Linked DNA regions of Homo sapiens: all the other regions are linked to region 3. Evidence: promoter capture Hi-C in human tissues and cell types (Jung and others, 2019). All regions are on one chromosome and are shown on one strand. The core of a region is centred on a gene start or on the middle of the fragment in contact, and the rest is flanking DNA. Distances in the headings are between cores, read along the strand shown.

Region 1 (4,588 bases), core at 1,225-3,724, 59 kb before region 3:
GTTTAGCTCCATTTTACTTGAAAACTTATTCATTGATTACCTTGGATAAATACATTGATAATTTATGCCAAGGGCTATTTATTTTTCTAGTAGACACACTTGTAATGTAAACCAATGTCAGATCTACTGTAGTACACTGTCAAAACTATCACCACCTGAGAACCTTGAAACTTTGCCTTTAAATATACCTGTACATTTAAAAAAGCAAATGTAACATGTTCTTTAGGAAAAAAATTCTCTATTTTTGAGTCTAAAAATGAGCTCAGCTACCTCTTTAAGAGATGATATAATGATGTGCCACACCTGCCTTCAGAGAACTGAGTACAAATTTTGGTATGGTTCAAATTTTCTGGCTTTCCCAGAAAAAAATTATTAAATTACTGCCAGAAGGGGCCCTTTAAAATATTTTAGAATAGAAAAATAGAGCCCATGCAGAACCATTTTCAGGTGAATTGTATTAAGTTTATTAATAATTTGGATGAACTGGCACATGTTCTTGGCAAAAACAAGGGAAATCTCTTGTTTAAGAATGTTCTCCACTATAAATCCTGATGAAAAATTACTATTTTAGCTAAGAAGTTATTGTGTATAAGGAGACTGACAAGTATATATTTCACCACTGTAAGAATTTTTTGGGGGACTCTCAAAATCTTTTCAGTTTCACTTGAGGTATAAACCAGAAGACATTCGAAAACACTTTTTTAAAGGCTACTATTGTTCAATGAAACACTATTTCTTTTCTTTATTTTTCTGACATTAGTGTTGAAAATCAGGTCAAAGGTGACTTCATCACCATGACTACAAAAGAATTTATGTGATGTTTTCAACTGTTTACTCCATAGTTCATTATCTGCCCTTATATAAGTAATCTTCAGAAATCTCACACAGTGAAATACTTAAAAGTAGATTGAATTAAAACTCTATAAAACACATCATACTTACTTATAAAATTAACACAAGACCTAGTACAAGTTATCAGCAATATTTTGATGGTTCACTTATTTAAAGTATATATCAGTCATGATAGTTTATATTAACAACACAGCTTCTATTAAGCTAACATTGGAATAGCATGAAAGATATTTGCTTAGAGGAAGTAGTTGGTGAAAATGCTCTGAGTCTTTTTGTTGCTCAACAAGGGAACTTTTGGCAAGTTAACAGTGAGCAGGATTATCTTTCTTTAGAAAACAATTTTATAAATTGAATGCTATCTAAGAGCTCATTAGGGGACTATTTGGCATGTGAAATGCATTTTTTAAAAAAGTTTAGTTTGCAAGGCAACAAGCCTAATTTAATGCAAAATATAGGTGAAATATTATACCTTAGCAATTAAAATAGTGAAAAGATTTATATGTGAAAGTTGACATGCATATTGACATTTTACATATTACTTTTATGTTTATGTGAAGGTAGAAAAGAGAAAGAGAAGTGAAAGAAGAGAAAGAAGAAAAAAGTGAAAAAATTATTATAAATAATATTTCAAACAGCATTTTAATTCCATATATTCCTATTTCCTCAAAGGTTCCTGAAGATGACTCTTGTACTCTCCTGGCCAATTTAGCCCTACCTCTAGTGTTATCTCGTTCTGTAGTCTTTGTACTTGTCTTCCATTTCAAACCTTTTCCAAAACCTATGTCAAAATAGGTTTTCTTATCTTGAAAATAGATTGGGGATCACAGCACTATTTTTTTTACACCTAGAAAGTAATTTGTTTGGCTATGAAGACATGAAGTAATTAGTATTACTTGAAATAATGTCTAGTTTCTACCTTATGAAAAAACATTATCTTTTAGTTTGATTAAAAAACATACAAATTGGCCCTTGAATAATGTGGGTTTGAACTGCTCAGGTTCACTTACACACACATTTAAAAAAAAGAAAAGAGTTACACCAAGTGTTCCTGCTTCTCCTGCCTCCTTTTCACCTCCTCTACCTCTTCTACTGCAGAGATAGCAAGACCAAGTCCCCCTCTTTCCCCTCCCACTCATCCTACTCAATGTGAAGGCAATGAGGATAGAAACCTTCATGATGATCCACTTCCACTTAATGAATAGTAAATACATTTTCTCACCTGTTTGATTTTATTAGTAACATTTTCTTTTTCTAGCTTGCTTTATTGTAAGAATACAGTATATAATATGTATAACCTACAAAATATGTGTTAACTGGCTACTGATATTATCGGTAAGGCTTCCAGTCATCAGTAGACTATTAATAGTTTAGTTTTGGGGGAGTTAAAAGTTATACACAGATTTTGAACTGCAAGAGGGTAGGTACTTCCTAACCCCCTTGTTGTTCAAAGGTCAACTGTACATCCTTTTCATAGAAAAATGTAGAAATATATCAAAAAAAGATGATAATTTTTAACCTTGTTTTGTGTTTGTATTTGTCATACTTTTATAAAAATATACCTACACAATTTATTTTTAAAGAAAAAATGAGATTCTGCTATTCTATTGAGTCTAGAACCATCAATTATTAAATATAATTTTTCTTGTGCTGTTAAGAATGCCACTGTATTACAATGCTTTAAAAAAATCTTAGATTTTTAATAACTCTTTTTGAAAGAACTTGTTATTTAGACATATAATTTTAAAAGGCTGAATAATATTCCATTATAGTTTCTTCATTCATCTGTCAACAAACTCATCAGTTGTTTTTGTATGTTGGCTATTGTGAGAAATGCTGCAATGAACATGGGAGCACTGGATCATATGGTAATTCTATTTTTAATTTCTTTGGGGACACCCACACTGTTTTCCACAGTGGTCACACCAATCTACATTCCCACCAAGAGTGTACATGTGTTTCCTATCTCTCTATTCATACAAACACTTGTTATTTCTTGGCCTCTTGATAAAAGCCATCCTAAAAGGTGAGAGATGATATTTCATTGTTGTTTTGATTACATTTCCCTCATGATTAGTGATGTTGAGCACCCTTTAATATACCTATTGGCAATTTATGTGTCTTCTTTGGAAAAATGTTTATTCAGATGCCAATTTTTAAACTGGGTTACTTGTGGATTTTTTTGTTTACTTTGTTTGCTATTGTTTGTTATATAATTTGGATATTAACCCCTTATCAGATATGTGGTTTGCCAATATTTTCTCCTAATGTGTAAGCTTCTTTTTCATTTTGTTGTTTGTTTCCTTTGTTGTATGAAAGCATTTTAGTTTGATGTAGCTGTAAATATTAAATATGCATTCTTAAATATTTTAAAATCAATAATTCATAATATGCTATGATGTGTGTTCTGTTATATAATCCACATTCTATTATTTAAGCATTTGGGCTCTTTTGATCTTTCATCATAGAAGCAATGCAGTAATAAGAATACTTTTAAGAATGTGCATATTTTCAAATTGCTTCTATAAAGATGGTTCCAGTTTACATTTCTATTAGGAATAATATTCATCCTCTATTAGTGATCATAAAGTCTTCTAATTGATATCTACTTTATATTTCTTTTAAAGTACACTTTTCTGCTAATGGTTTGTGCCTTCCTTTCCAGTTTGGAATATTGGTCTCCTTACGGAAAATACAAAGGCTAATTAGTTATTTTGTAACATAGTTTTTAATGTAATATAACTGTTCAATTGTTTCTTTTCCTACTCAAAGGTTTAAATTCTCCTTCCCTCTCTCCCTTTCTCCCTTCCTTCTTTCCTTTCTTTTTCTATTTTTGTTTAAACTTCTAGCTCTCTTATACATCCCTTTCATTCCATGGAATCGGACTCATGCCTGTATATTTCCAAGATTTATCTATTTCCAAGAATCAGACAAAGGATTAACAATTTATCTCTTTCCAATAAATATTTGAGAAAAGTGAAAAGTTAATTTTACCTTAATTAACTTTAATCAGTTAATTTTTACTTTTTTATATTTAAGACATGACAAATTATTGATAGTTCTAAAGAAAAGTAAAAATATAAAAGTCTAGGGCTGTTTCACATGCTAACTGAGCACCTCAGTTTGACACTTAAAGAATTTTTAATTAACTGGGCTGATGTGAAAATAAAATGAATAATAAAGTCGTGCTGGCAATTTATAATTTTTCAAGCAACTTACAAGAAATTTAAAATAGCTGTAAATCAAGGTAAGTTTATCTCTCCAAGCTGTGTCTGTATATTAATTTCAAATGACAGAAAAATAGATATTTTTTTTGCTGTACTACACACACACACACACACACATATACCCAAATACTTGGCTCTGCTTTCAGAATTTTCTCTCAGTCTAGTAGTATTCTGTAGATTGGGAAAGATGAAACAAAAAATATGGGAGTGTCAAAAACATGTAAGTGGTAAAATAGATCCATCATAGCATATATTTGAAGAATAGTATATTATATCTGCAATAAATGGGTAATTTTTTTCCTTTTTGTAAAGTTTTTCAAATATTCTTATATTTATAGGATATAAGAGATGTTATAACTGCATTATTAAAAGAAAGAGATCTGAAGATGGACCTGGGTTCAGATATAGGTCAATTCTGAATGGCCTGGCCATGCCATTCAACTTGTCAAAGCCTCACATTTTTTATGTATGCAACAAAGGATACCACCAGCATCCCACAGGGTGGCTGAGAA
Region 2 (4,491 bases), core at 853-3,352, 54 kb after region 3:
ATATGTAGTACATCATACTAAGTATATTATACATAGTATATAATATTAGGTATATTTAATATATACTTACTACATTTACATATAGTATATATAGTATAGTATATGTATATATGTATACACTAAATATACCATCGTATATCTTAAATATACATAATAAAATTCATCTTGACAAAGACATTGATGAATGTATCCTACTCTTCTGAGATCATATTGCCTCTTACAGGATTTGTTGTTTCAATTATGTAGCATGCTCATATAATTCTCTATTGATTACTAAAATAAGATGCTCAGATGTTCTCTATGGTAAAATTGCCTAAAATACTTTCCTTGGTTTTAGGCAACTATGCCTGACCCTCATCCTATACCAAATAAATTAAATAATGGTAGATGGGGTCCAGGCATAGGTATTTTCTTCAAAAGCTTTCAACTGGGGCCATGTGCAACAGCTCACGCCTATAATCTTAGAGTACTTTGGAAGGCCGAGGCTGTTAGATTGCATGAGCTCAGGAGATCAAGGTTGGCCAGGGCAAAACCCCATCTCTACTAAAAATACAAAAATTAGCTAGGCGAGATGGCATACACCTGTATAGTAACAGCTACTTGGGGAGCTGAGGCAGGAGGATCACTTGAACCCGGGAGGTCGAGGCTGCAGTGACCTGAGATCACGCCACTACATTCCAGCCTGGGGGACAAAGTGAGACCCTGTCTCAAAAAATAAATAAAAAGAAAAAAAGAAATAGAAAAGACTTCAGGTGACTGCAATGTGCACCTAGGGTTAGGCTAAGCTTTTAAGTTTCCTTCCTATTTTTAGTAGGCTACTTGCTTCCATCTCATCTATGTGCCATCAGTCTAGAATACATGCTCTAGAATTCCCTCCCTCATGCCTTGATAAAACTTCCAATGGCCCTCTTTCCAGGACCAAGAGCTAATATCCTAAGAGAGAAATTCTGGAAATATGGAGGACAGAAGGAGACTACTTTCCTCTCTACTCCTAAGTTATGTATGTCTCTTGAGCTGAAAAATGTCTCTAGTTTTGTTAACTAAAAATCTCTGTCTCTCTGAATACTGGCCCATGATTCCTGCCCTTTTGTGTTTGGGTTAAATCCTGTGACTAGTTCTGGCAGAGTCATGAACAGAAGAGCTCCATGCAAATTCCAGATCAGAACATTTCATTGCTTGTGTGAGGCTCTGTGTAGCTCAAAAATCAAGACATGGTTCACACTCATCTTAAGTTCCAGAGTGAGGGAAATCAGAACTCCCAGCCAACCTGCTATAGAGATGTATTCTGAGAAAGATAGATGCATTTAAGCCCCTGATATTTTGAAGATGATTTTTAACACAGCATAATTTAGCCCATTGGGACTGAGGAATGAGGTTAAATAACTTCTCGGTCCTGTTGGCAGCTAGATAAAAGTGAAGCGTTGGGATCTGTAGGGTACCCGAGGAGATAAAGACCATGGGGCTTTTGCCTCCATAAGTCAGGCAAGTGTTTGGTGATTAGCATCAGAAACTATGGAACAAAATCTGGGAATATGCACATCTTTGTGATGAGCTTATCTCTCTAAAAATCTGTGAACACTCTGGAGGGCTGGAGGAGAATGTTAACTTCGGCTCTGTGAGTGTCTACCTTGTTTATCTTGTTTTCAAGTGGCTAAGGGGGTACTGAAAATGTGGGTTGAATTTTCTCTGTCTCTGATATAATATGAAAACAAGCTTCACTAGGTGTTTAAGTAGGGAACAAGTAGCTTAGTTCTATCTTAATGGCCAGTGGGAGTAGAAATTTACTTACGAAGGAAAATGAATAAATTATCATGGGACTTTTTATCTGCATTGTAGGTAGCTAGAAGACAACGGACTACGAAAAAGACTGTCAAAACCAATGTTACCATTAACTGGTCAGAATATGCAATAATACCTAGAAAATTTATCATTAATGTGTATGCTATGAGGTAGAAGAATAAACAGAAATTTCTAAATAAAACACTAAATCAATTCTAGCAGGTGAACTGCAGAGTGAACCTTGATGTACTATCTTTAGGTCAATGCTTAAAGATGACTATTTGGAAATGTCTAAAATAACTGCTAAATAGGGATGTAAAATAGAGGGAGATTTTGCGTGGAGAATTTAATAAACAAAATCTGAAACTACTTAACTAGTCAAGTTTCTAAGATTTGGAAATACGTATAAAAATGGGAGTAAAAATCTTCCCAGGATTTCATCTAGTAGTAAAAAGGGAAGAGATAAAGAGATAATTGTAAGTACTGTAAAGATTTCCTATTACTTGTATCAAGGAAGTAAAGACAAATAGACTCTTTTAATTAGAGGAATATATATTCTCATAAGGGAAATATTGAATAACATGTTTCTATAATGCAGGAGATCAGGGAACAAGAAACCACCCATATTGAGAATGGAAAATTAGAGTGAAACTTCTGGATTAACCAGGGGAAAATGCAACGAATAGTTCCTTTTTCTTAACAGCAAAAAATAACTTAAAAATCACTGTAAAACAAATATTAAATAATAAAAGATGGAGAGACTAAAAGAATTTGTTTTAGTAATTAAGCTAAATGTAAACAGATAAGATTTTCCTTTTGAAAATTAGGGACTGTAACAGTACGTTACAAAAAGAAAATCCAACTTTGTTCACTTTATGAGATATTCATTTAAAACACAGCGATAGGGAAAGGCTGACCATAAAGGGGTGAATAAAGGGATACCAGATAAATACAAACAAACTAAAGCAAAAGAGGAAACATCAGTATCAGACTGATTAGAAGAAACTTAATGTTAAAAACATTGAAAATCAATTGATAAAAAGGCAAGTTTAGGAAGAAGATATAGCTGCACATGTCTGCGTACTCCAAACAAAAAACAGTGGAACCAAATAAATCTAAAAACAGATAAATCTATGAAAGTTTTGTTATAATGACACCAATTGATGTAGCTATCTCACAAGTAGAAAGGCCTTGCAGACAAAATTAAGGAGTGAGGTGGAGAAATCAAGTACTACAGTCAATAATCATGATTTTAAATAGGTACCTATAAGTTTAAATGGAAAATACTCTTAAGGTTCAAAAAACATTTGTAGAATTGGTGCCAAAATAAAACTTAACAAGTGAAAATAATAGAGAAATTACAGATCACATAATCTAATCATGATCCAATACAATTAAATAATTAAAAAATGATCGCAAACATTGAAACTACTTAGATATTGAGAATCATAGTCTCTTGGAAAGGAAGTTTTAAAATTGGAAATCATAAACCATCTAGAAAGCAATGAAATAAAGAACACATTATACCATAGGCCAGCCCTGGAAAAACTCAGTAGAACATTTATAGTTTAAATGTCATCATATTTTTTTAAAAAAGAGATAAATAAAACCAAAACAGGTATATATAACACAAACTTGGGAGCAAAGAAGAGCAAATAAGACTTTTTAAAAGGATGAAAATAATAAAATAAAACTGAAATTAATGAACTTGAAAATAAAAATAGTTGAAAGGCTTATCCAAAAGGTGTGTATGTAAAAATACAGATGCAAATACTTTGTGAGTCAGATTGTAAAAAAGATGTAAAAGTACAAGACAGTGAGTGCTTAAGGATATATAATGGCAAAGAAGAAGAGATCTGGAGAATCATAAAAGAAGACTTTGTGCAACTCTGTGACAATATAATCAAAATATTAGAGAAAATGTTTTCTGTCAAAATATAACTTATCTAAATTGGCATATACAGACATTTTAAAATAGGCTGATCACCAAAGAAGATATTAGAAAGATGATTAAACCCATTAAAGCCAGATAGATTATTTCATAGATTAAATGACTGACTAAAAATACTAACTTTCACCACAGTGAGATACCACTTATTAGAGTGACTACTATAAAAATAGAAAAACCAAGTCTCCATAAGAAGGAAAAATTGGAACTTTTGTGCACTGTTAGTGAAAATGTAAAATGGTGCAACCCCTGTGGAAAACAGTATGGCAGTTCCTTAAAAAACTAGGAATAAAATTACTATATAATCCAGCAATTATACTTTGGGGTGTGTACCCCCAAAAGTTGAAAGCTGAAACTCAAACAGATATTTGCACACTCATGTTTAAAGCAGTATTGTTTGTAACAGGTAAAATGCAGAAGCAAACCAAGTGTCCATCGATTAATGACTGGATAAACAAAATGTGCCATATATGTGCAATGGAATATTCAGCTGTGTAAAGGAACTGAACCCTGATGCATGGTGCATCATGAATTAACCTTGAAAGTATAATGCTAAGTGAAAGAAACCAGTCACAAAATGTCCAATACTGTATGATTCCACTTATGTGAGTTTCCTAGAGTAGTCAAATTTATAGAGACAGAAAACAGAATGGTGATTGCCAAGCACTGAGAAAAGGAGGAGATGCAGAGTTATTGATTAATGAGTGCAGAGTTTCTGTTTGTGCTGATGAAAAAGTTCTGGAAAGAGACGATGGTGATAGCTG
Region 3 (4,070 bases), core at 167-2,666:
TGCTAGACAAGTCACAAAGGCCTCCCAGGGGATAGCAACAGATGATCTCTTTGAAGGTTTTCCTCAGTTCTTGACTCCGGAGTGCATAAATCAGAGGATCGATGATTGAATTACACATGATCAGTATGAGATACAAGTTAAAGTGAGACATGAAGCACACACAATATGGATTCTGAGGACAAGAGATGTAGAATATTAAGTGGAGGAAGAATGGGGCCCAGCAGACAACAAAGACGCCAATCAGGATGGTCAAGGTAATCGCTCCCTTCATATTGGCACCTTGGCGGATGGCACCAGTGCCGGGGAGGACAGCAATCCTCTTAATGTGAAGCCTGGCCATCAGGAACATGTGGACATAGAGAGAAGCCATGAGAGCCAGCATGGTGAAGAACATGGTGATGAGGCAGATGATGACAGCACTACTATCTGAGTAAATGATGAACAAAATGCCTGAAACCGTGCAAGCTGCCCAGATACAACTTATGATGATCCCAACCCGCTTAACTGTCATAATGTTATGGTACTGGAGAGCATAGAAGATAGTAAAGTACCTGTCCACTGCAATTGAAAGCAGGCTGCAAATGGATGCAAGCAAGGAGCTACAGATCACCGAGTCAATGACATTATCAATATTCACTGTGAAACTCTGTGCATCCGTATCTGTACTGTTTAATAGGGTGATGACAATGGTTTCTGATCCATTTGAAACGCTCACCAGCATATCAGCCACAGCCAAGCTGCAGATGAAAAAGTACATGGGTGAATGCAGATTCTTGTTCTTGGCTATTGCCACAATCACTAAGATATTCTCCAACAAGCTGATGACACCCAGAGTCACAAACACCTCAGGAGAGACAAAAAGTTGCTCGTAGCACCCTCCATCAGAGTAGCCTTTTCCAAGGGACTCACTGGCATTGCTGTGCAGTCTGTAACTGCTGCGGTTCCAGAGGTGCAGAGAAGTGTGCATCCCACGGTGGGTGGAGTTCACCATGCTGGCAGGAGAATTCCAGTGTCCCCCTGAATTGATTTAACCTCCTGGGTCAGGGAGTCGTCTCAGTTATTTCCTCCAAGTCTTTATCTGTCTGAAAGTTGTGAGGCTAAAATTGCCATGCCTGCTGTGAGTAAATGTCACAAGTCCAGAGCTTGACATGGAGTTTTTAGTCTCTTTTAGGTACGACTCTAATCATCATCACTTTAAAATCTTGGGCTTCAAAATATTCATTCTCAGTTGAAAGAGTCTGCTCTTTGCTTTCTTGTTCTCACTTCTGCTTTAACTTTAATCTTATGCATTCAAGTCTGTTCAAAATAATTTTCCTTGAAGCTGCCATGCCATTGGGAGACGAATCTGTGCGCACATGCTCACATCGGCTGCCTCTCGGAAGCTTCTGTTTCCAGCCTGAGCGTTGCTTTGAGTGTTAGGGGCTGTAGGCGCCAGCTGCTGATTTTTATGATGTGTGGAGAGAAAAAAAACATGTTCACGGTGGCTCCTCCTCTGCTTCCTTCTGACCAATCCCAATGCAATGGGAGTCTGTGAGACAGGATTATGTTTCAGAGACACAAATTGCAGGGTGACACAGATTCAGATGCAGAAGCTCCTGAAGTCTGAAGTCGAGAAGCAAGCCGGATAAGAGACTGAATTTCCCTTTTTAAGTTTTCAAGGGAAACAACTTGATCCCTAGAGGCCATTCTGTGATATCAAAACAAGCTATCTTCAGGCAGCCAGGTTCATTCTTATGTAAAAGACATCATGTGTGTGTGTAAAATGAAATGGAAAGTATACTGTCTTATGTTCCTGAAACAGATACTCTGCTTTTTGGCTAGGATACTGAATTTATTTACCTTCTTAATTTTTTGTTTTTATTAAGAACCCAGCCAGTAGTGGTTCAGTTAAAATACCTGAAAAACAGAGAGGATATTTAATGATACAGATAGACATGGTATGGCTGGAAGAACTATGTAGGTAGCTATAAATTATGAATGGGTTCAAAAGGGGTTGATTTTAATGCACTAATATCCCATATTTCTCTATTGAGGAGTTTGTGTTATAGCTGAAAAAAGGTGCTTTTTATTTACAATATTTTAAACTCATACGGCATTAATGTAACTATGCTTACACTGAACTCAGGAAAATAATAAGCTGCATTCTGTTTTTTTTTTTTAAGCAACTTTTTTTTAAACCTCCAGAGTTTAACGTATCGTAAGTTGAACCGACAAATACCTAGTAACTTTACTTATCAAGCCAAGACTGGTGATACTAGTTAGTTATTGAAGTTTCTGAATATTTTGCTTAAGGTGGTTTGAAAGATGGCAGCAAAGTTACTTTCCAAATTAACTGAACAACAGATTATACAAAATTTTGTATATTCTTTTCTTCTATGATTATTTTTGGTTTTAGTGCTCTATAGTTTGTAGCTGCTTATTTCAGGGTTAATTCTGAATCTCAGTTACTTAGGTTGGGAATGTATCCTCTTTCCTTTTGTGACAGAGACAATACTAAGTATTGTTCCTGAGCATTGAGATAAATTAACGTCTTCCATCCACCTTTGGAATTGGGTAGGACCTTATGACTAAATTCTAGCTAATGGCATGTTGACAGTGGGGCTCATCGCATTAGCTCTTTCATAATTTTACACAAGTTTTCTCTCCTGTCTTTGAAATCTCATGTTACAGGTGGCAGGACCATATCATGAAAGGAGCCTGTCTCTTGAATGATTGCACAGAGCAGAACTCACACCTCCAACTCCCTTCCCCTGTATTTCTGAATGCCTAATCATCTGTATATTGTAAAATGCTGGAATGGGCTTTCCTGAACATCATGAGCTGGAAATAATCTTACCTTCCTCTTGCCTTATTTTTTCTCTTTTTAAAAATTGACATATAATTCACATACCAAAAAAAATCACCTCTTTAGTAATTAAATGGATTTTTGGGGGAATATATTCACAGAGTTGTGCCATAATCATCACTTTCTATTTCTAAAACATTTTCATTATCCCATTAGCAGTTGCTCCCCATTTTACCCTTTCCTTATCCTCTAGGAACTGCTAATCTACTTTCTGTCTCTATCAATGTGCCTATTTTAGACATTTTATATGATTGAAATAATGCAATATGTGGCCTTTTGTGGCTCACTGTTTTCATGTAGCATAATATTTTCAAGGTTTGCTTACACTATAATGTGAATCAGAATTTGATTTTTAAAAAATTAAAACAGGATCTTGCTCTGTCACCCAGGCTGGAGTGCAGTGGCATGATCATGGCTCACTAGGTTCAAGTGATCCTCCTACTTCAGCCTCCTGAGTAGCTGGAACTAAATGTACCTCCACACCCAGCTAGCTTTTAAAAAATAATTTTGTAGAGATTGAATCTCATTATGTTGTCCAGGCTGGTCTCAAACTCTTGGGCTCAAACGATATTCCCATCTCGGTTTCTCCAAGTGCTGAGATTACAGGCATGAGCCACTGTGCCCAGTTTTGATTTGTTTTTATGGCTGAGTAATATTCCATTGTATGTATACATTTATATATATATATATTTTTTTTTTTTTTTTTTTTGAGACGGAGTCTCGCTCTGTCACCCAGGCTGGAGTGCAGTGGTGCAATCTCAGCTCACTGCAAGCTCCGCCTCCTGGGTTCACGCCATTCTCCTGCCTCAGCCTCCCAAGTAGCTGGGACTACAGGTGCCCGCCACCGCACCTTGCTAATTTTTTGTATTTTTAGTAGAGACGGGGTTTCACCGTGGTCTCGATCTCCTGACCTCATGATCCGCCCGCCTCGGCCTCCCAAAGTGCTGGGATTACAGGCATGAACCACTGCACCTGGCTGTATACATTATATTTTTAAATGTATTCATCAGTTGAGGAACATTTGGGTTATTTCCAGTTTTGGCTATCACGAATTATGCTGCTAGGAATATTTATGGACAAATTCTTATGTGACAGATGATTTCAATTCTTTTGGATACACAACCAGGAATGGAATTGCTGAATCATATGATAACTCTGTTTCTTGTTTTGAGGAACTGCCAAACTGTTTTCTGAAGTGGCTGCACCATTTGACATTTCCAGTTAG

Evidence for each region. Contacts are between HindIII fragments. The study calls those that stand out against the background at their distance.
Region 1: a fragment that was not itself captured here is called in contact with the fragment with the promoter of MC4R in region 3 in 4 of the 25 tissues and cell types used here (heart left ventricle, mesendoderm cells, spleen and 1 more).
Region 2: a fragment that was not itself captured here is called in contact with the fragment with the promoter of MC4R in region 3 in 5 of the 25 tissues and cell types used here (dorsolateral prefrontal cortex, hippocampus, mesenchymal stem cells and 2 more).

The regions. Positions count from the first base shown.
Region 1 is chr18:60,311,030-60,315,617 of GRCh38, forward strand. No RefSeq gene overlaps it. Among named protein-coding and RNA genes, the nearest start is that of MC4R, 59 kb to the right of the region's middle. The HindIII fragment of the contact is 6,802 bases long and covers 1-4,588 here.
Region 2 is chr18:60,424,544-60,429,034 of GRCh38, forward strand. No RefSeq gene overlaps it. Among named protein-coding and RNA genes, the nearest start is that of MC4R, 54 kb to the left of the region's middle. The HindIII fragment of the contact is 6,143 bases long and covers 1-4,491 here.
Region 3 is chr18:60,371,359-60,375,428 of GRCh38, forward strand. MC4R (melanocortin 4 receptor) reads right to left here and starts at 1,417. Exons shown (of 1, transcript NM_005912.3): 1 at 1-1,417. The coding sequence starts at 991. The HindIII fragment of the contact is 8,670 bases long and covers 549-4,070 here.